Regions from separate parts of the Homo sapiens genome. Here region 1 is linked to region 2. Evidence: promoter capture Hi-C in 16 types of primary human blood cells and fetal thymus (Javierre and others, 2016). All regions are on one chromosome and are shown on one strand. Each heading gives the region's core, a stretch centred on a gene start or on the middle of the fragment in contact. The rest is flanking DNA. Distances are from core to core; before and after follow the strand shown. Region 1 has its middle 46 kb from the start of JAK2. Region 2 holds the start of PDCD1LG2 (programmed cell death 1 ligand 2).

Region 1 (2,700 bases), core at 197-2,696, 570 kb after region 2:
CAAGAATCAACAAAAATGTAAGAAAATCCTAAAACCGTAAGAGCCTTATAAAAATAGCTGGAGTGGGCAAGAATGTGTGAGTTTAACCAAGCCATCTGCCTTCTGCTCCGCTGGCAAACAATTCAGTTATACAGTACAGCTCTTGATTAAATATAAAAACACTTCTCCCACCCTTTTTCTGTCATAATAATAATTTTGGTGCATTTCTTTGTATACATTGTTTTTTATATACTGCAAGAATTTTTCATGTGGCTAAAAACTACTGAGTCTCAATATTTTTCTGATTCGCTACCATTGACTTACCTAAGATATTTCCACTAGGACAATATAGATTACATATAATGTTTTTTTCATAATCGTTATTTGAAATGGCTGTATAATCTTCCATTGAGTGGATGCACCATAATCTAGTTAAACTATTTCCTGTTGTTAGATTTTAGGCTGTGACTAATTTTTCACTATTATGAATAATTTTCCTGTGAGAAGTGCAAACCGTAGGCATATTTTTTTAATCTCTGGATTATTTCCTTAGTACAAATACCCAGGAGATTCTACTAGGTGAAAGGATGAGAATATTTTAAAATCTCCTGATAGCCAGGTGCAGTGGCTTGCACCTGTCATTCTACTTACTTGGGAGACTGAAGCAAAAGGATCCCTTGAGCTCAGGAGTTCAAGAACAGCTTGGGCGACATAGCAAGACCCTGCCTCTAAAAATTACTAAATAAATAAAACTAAAAGATCTCAATACATATAGCTAAATCAATTTCTAAAAGACGTTTCTAATTCTACTGGTAATGTACTATAGTACTAACAAACATTAAATATTATTATAAATGTTGCTATGCTTTGTAGCCAAATGAATGGAAGGGGTATCTTATCACTTTTAAAATTAAAAGTGAGGTGGAACATTTTTCCATGTTTGTTAACTAGATGATCTCTTCTTCTCAATATCTATTTACTTTATTATACCACGAAGGACTTGAAGAGCTTTCAAGTAGTGTTTGTCAGTAAGAAAACATACTCTTTTTGTTTCTTTTTTATGTAGGTGTTTTGTGTGGGTCACTCCATGGATTCATAGGTGAATCTATTCCCTCAAAATGAATCTATTGGGAACATTCTTTAAAAAAAAACAAACAAACAAAAGTAACAGAGCAATAGCAAGATCTTTCTGAAAAAGAAATTGCTGGCACATTTTACCAGCATTTACCTTGATCCAAATCATTGAGTTTAGAGAGAGATCCAGTCAATTTAGCAAATCAGCCAAAAGCAACAGTATATGACAGATCAAATTCCATTGGAACAAATACCACACAGACTGGGCAATTCCAGGGGCAGATATAAGACAAATGAGGGGAAGTTGAAGGGAGATAAGATTGTTGGCTGATAGAAAGGAATTTCTAACAACTAACTCGAGCCCCAAATAGACAACAAAGGAGCAACAAAGATGCAAAGATGGTCAGGAGGAGTTTGGAGGATTCATGCAGGAGGGTGTGGGAGGCCTTGTGGTGAGTAGACTGGATAGGACCCCTAAAGTCCCTTCCAACTCTATTTTCCTTAGAGTGGCCCTTGGACCTGAACTTCCTGGTCCTGGGAATAGGAGATTGCTTTGTACAGGACAGAAAAAGAGGAAGAACCTGTCCCTCTCTTCTTGAGGGTGGGGCTGACCATAGTCAGAATTTTGAAATAGAGTTTATCTTTGGCATCTTCTCACTTCCCTTTCTGTACTTTTGCTTACCAGCTGCCCAGTATTCCGATGGGGGTGTTAGCCTCTAAGCAGTGCCACTCCTGCATTACTTCTTTCTCTTTAACCACTTCAAAACTCCCATTCTCTTAACACAGCTAACCTCAGCTAGCTGTTGAAAGGAAAGCAATCTGTTTGAACCATTTCACTCTAAAGCATGACCGACTGATAGTATCATGATCTTCCCAAACAGATACGAATTTTCAAAACAAGATGTTTCTAAAGCCAATGGCATCTTTAACAACATGTGGTAAATTAAACCCCACTTAATAACCCTTCTGAAGTTCAAGTTCCAGCTACATTAATTACTGTCCCTCAGTATTGAGGAAATTACTAGGCCATCCTGTGTTTCAATATTCTTATCAGAAAATGAGGAAGAAATACAACTAAACCATATAATTTATATAAGCTGCCTGGCATAATGCTTGACACATGGGTCTTATTGTTAGTTATTATTGTCCCCTTTGCAGTCATCCATGCAGAGGTGTAATCATGTATTTCTTACTCTCATAACGCATATTCCTTGGGCTGGGAGGTGAGTCTCCAAGTCAGAGTCTGGGCAGCTGACATCCTTGTTGTGTAAAAGGAGGATTTCCTCAAGTTCAGCAGCCTCTATTATCCTTTTCTATCACATTATTTCCTGCCATTACATTTTTTTCCATTCTCTTTACTTTGTGTTTTATTTGTTTGTTTGTTTGTTTGTTTGTTTGTTTGATGGTTGAATTAGGAAGTTAAATTTTGATTTGAAAGTTTGGTTAATTTATTCTCCATGTCTCTTCTTTTCTGATATGGACATTGAAAGCTATAGATTTCCCTCTGAACAACATGTTGACCATACCCCACAGATTTTGTAGAGTAATGCTTCTGTGCCCATTCATATTTATGTGATTTATAATTTCCATTTGATTTTGTCCTTAGCCCAAGAGTTATTTCATTATTGATTTGTAATTCATAAACAG
Region 2 (2,700 bases), core at 161-2,660:
CACCTATGTGTATTGCCAGGTACTGCACTAGGAACTTGGGACTCAGAGAACCTTAAAGGTGTGCTTCTTGCCTGTGAGGAGCTCCAGTTCAATGGAAAAGCTCACCAACAGGAGAAATCTGGGGAGAAGACACCCTGAAGCAGCAGACAACAAAGAGCCTGATGATGGGGAGACCTCAAATAATGAAGGCAAATAGATCAGGTTCCAGTGGCAAGAGCAGCAGGACCAGGATTGTTCATCCACTCACAGAATCTTAGGCTTGGAAAGGAGCTTGGAGGACATCCAGGCCAACTCCGTATTTGACCCTGATACAACTGTCTCATTACTGCTCACACTGAATATTTTTACTCTGCATTTTGTCAATTTAGGTCTCTCATTCCCTGCCCCTCAGAGCCATAGTATTTTTGGGTTAAAAGTCCTGATTAGTTGGTAATCTCACTCAGGCTTAGCCTCTCCACCTCCATCCCCTCCACATGAACCCATTGCCTTTGCTCTTCTACTCAGTGCATCCAGGCGGTGAGCAATCAATAGCAATTATTTCAGTTCTGTTTAATTTTTCTACCTTTTCGCTGATCATTTTATATGGAAAGAATAAGCCTTTCCATAGTCCCCAAATCATGCTTTTGTTCAATAATGATTACCTCTATAAGTTATTAAGATAATAGTTTTGGGTTTTTTGTTTTTGTTCCCCCTCCACCAACAGCTGCCTCTTAGGCATAGCTTGTAAACAAAGGCCAGCCTGGAGGGATCACCGTCTGCTAAATGGATAATCACAAACAGATGTCAGTCATAGGAAAACAGATTTTTAAGTTCTTCACCATTAAGCCTCCGAAAACTCTAAGCTGAGAGACAATCTTAAGAATAGTTATATTATTTTACAGTGCACATATTTGGTGCAGAAAATATCTCACCTTATAAAACTGAGCAACAAGAACAATATGCATAGGAACAAGTGAGAGAAATCTGGGGCAGGAGGACATTAGCTTATTTGTGCCCCTCAGCACAATTTCTGAGGCAGAATGTCTCTTGCCTCAAATGGTGTGGAGAGAAGGTAGGCCACCCTTCCCCCACCCTGGCAGCCTCATCATGGTCCACAACATAATAGTATGAGAGTATCTCAACCCACTCGTTACTCACATGAGGACTTGCCACAGCTCCACAAGTAAAGATGCAAAAGTAAACAACAAAAAACAGTTGCTGTTTGTGTTAGATTTCCTTATAGTAGCCACCAAAATGAACAGCCAAAAGGAAAAACAAAACAATCAACATGCAGTAGCTCCAACCCAGGATTCTTTCTAGCTGGGACATATGAGGATGGGTAACAAAAAAGCACTCAAAATTTGGCGTTAAGATATATTCAAGAGAAGAAAAGTTGTTCATTCAGCTTAAGGTTTGCCGTAACATGAGAGTGAGTCAAACCAGAACTAGTTCTGAGGAACTGACGAAAGCCTGGCTTATTTGGAAAGTTTTGGTTTTGCTTTTAGCAGTTTGTCTGTGAATGGGATTGCATTCCTGATTTGGCTCTTGGCTTAGCTATGGTTGGTGTTTAGGAATACTAGTGATTTTTGTATGTTCATGTGGGATCCTGAAACTTTCTGAAGTTTATCAGCTTAAGGAGCTTTTGGGCTGAGACTGTGGGATTTTCTAGATATAAAATTATGTCATCTGCAAACATGGGTAGTTTGACTTCCTCTCTTCCTTCTTGGATGCCTTTTCTTTCTTTCTCTTGCCTGATTGCTCTGGCCAGGACTTCCAATAGTATGGTGAATAGGAGTGGTGAGAGAAGGCAGCCTTGTCTTGTGCCGGTTTTCAAGGGGCATCCTTCCAGCTTTTGCCTATTCAGTGTGATGTTGGCTGTGGGTTCATCATAGATGGCTCTTATTATTTTGAGGTATGTTCCTTCAATACCTGGTTTGTTGAGAGTCTTTTTTTTAACATACCTTGAGAGTTTTTAATACCCTTTTATTCCCTCTCTTTCCCCTATTCTTATATGTGCTCCAGCTTCCCCATTGTCCCTGGAGCACATTTAGGAATAGGGGAAAGGGATGGAATGAAGAATACCAGCATGTCTTAGTGCTGTGCCAGGAAATTGACTCATTTCCTAGGGCTTCTGTAACACATGACCTCAAGTCCTTGGCATTCCCTGACTTATAGTTGTATCACTCCAATCTCTGCCTCCATCTTCAAATGACATTCTTTTCTGTGTGTATCTCTACATTCCTCTCCTCTTATGAGGATACCATCCGTTTGATTAGTGCCCACCCTAATGCAGTATGACCTCATTTAGACTACATCTGCGTAGACCCTACTTCCAAATATAGTCACATTCTGAGGTCCTCAGTAGACATGAATTTGGGGGGAACATTATTCAACTAACCTCACTTCATTTCATAGTGCCTCATTTCATTCTCAGTGCAATGTGTGGTTTAGAGTTAGACCCATTTTACACATGAGAAAACAGGACCAAGATCAAACAATGTTTCCTTAGTTGCATGGCTGAATTTGAACTCGGACCTCAGTGGCCCCACTATACCTTCAGGCTTGTGATTGGTGAGATTAAAACCACATGGCAAGAAAAGGCAAACTTGAATATAGGCCTGAATGATCAATCCTTCTCCTGCTGCCTCCCGCCCTTTTCCTTGTGCTTATAGGGGTAGGACCAGCAGAGATGTGGGGCTGAACACTCAGACAGAGGATGTT

The links. The method cuts DNA at HindIII sites, captures the fragments that hold promoters and counts their contacts. A CHiCAGO score of 5 or more calls a contact.
Region 1: a fragment that was not itself captured here is called in contact with the fragment with the promoter of PDCD1LG2 in region 2 in 1 of 17 cell types (M0 macrophages); the score reaches 5.2 in M0 macrophages.

What each region holds. Positions count from the first base shown.
Region 1 is chr9:4,938,281-4,940,980 of GRCh38, reverse strand. No RefSeq gene overlaps it. Among named protein-coding and RNA genes, the nearest start is that of JAK2, 46 kb to the left of the region's middle. The HindIII fragment of the contact is 6,163 bases long and covers 1-2,700 here.
Region 2 is chr9:5,509,241-5,511,940 of GRCh38, reverse strand. It overlaps PDCD1LG2 (programmed cell death 1 ligand 2), which reads right to left and starts at 1,410. Exons shown (of 7, transcript NM_025239.4): 1 at 1,138-1,410. All of the region lies in intron 2 of INCR1 (interferon stimulated noncoding RNA 1), which reads left to right. RefSeq lists enhancers at 1,312-1,361, 1,522-1,581, 1,642-1,721, 1,663-2,700. The HindIII fragment of the contact is 25,064 bases long and covers 1-2,700 here.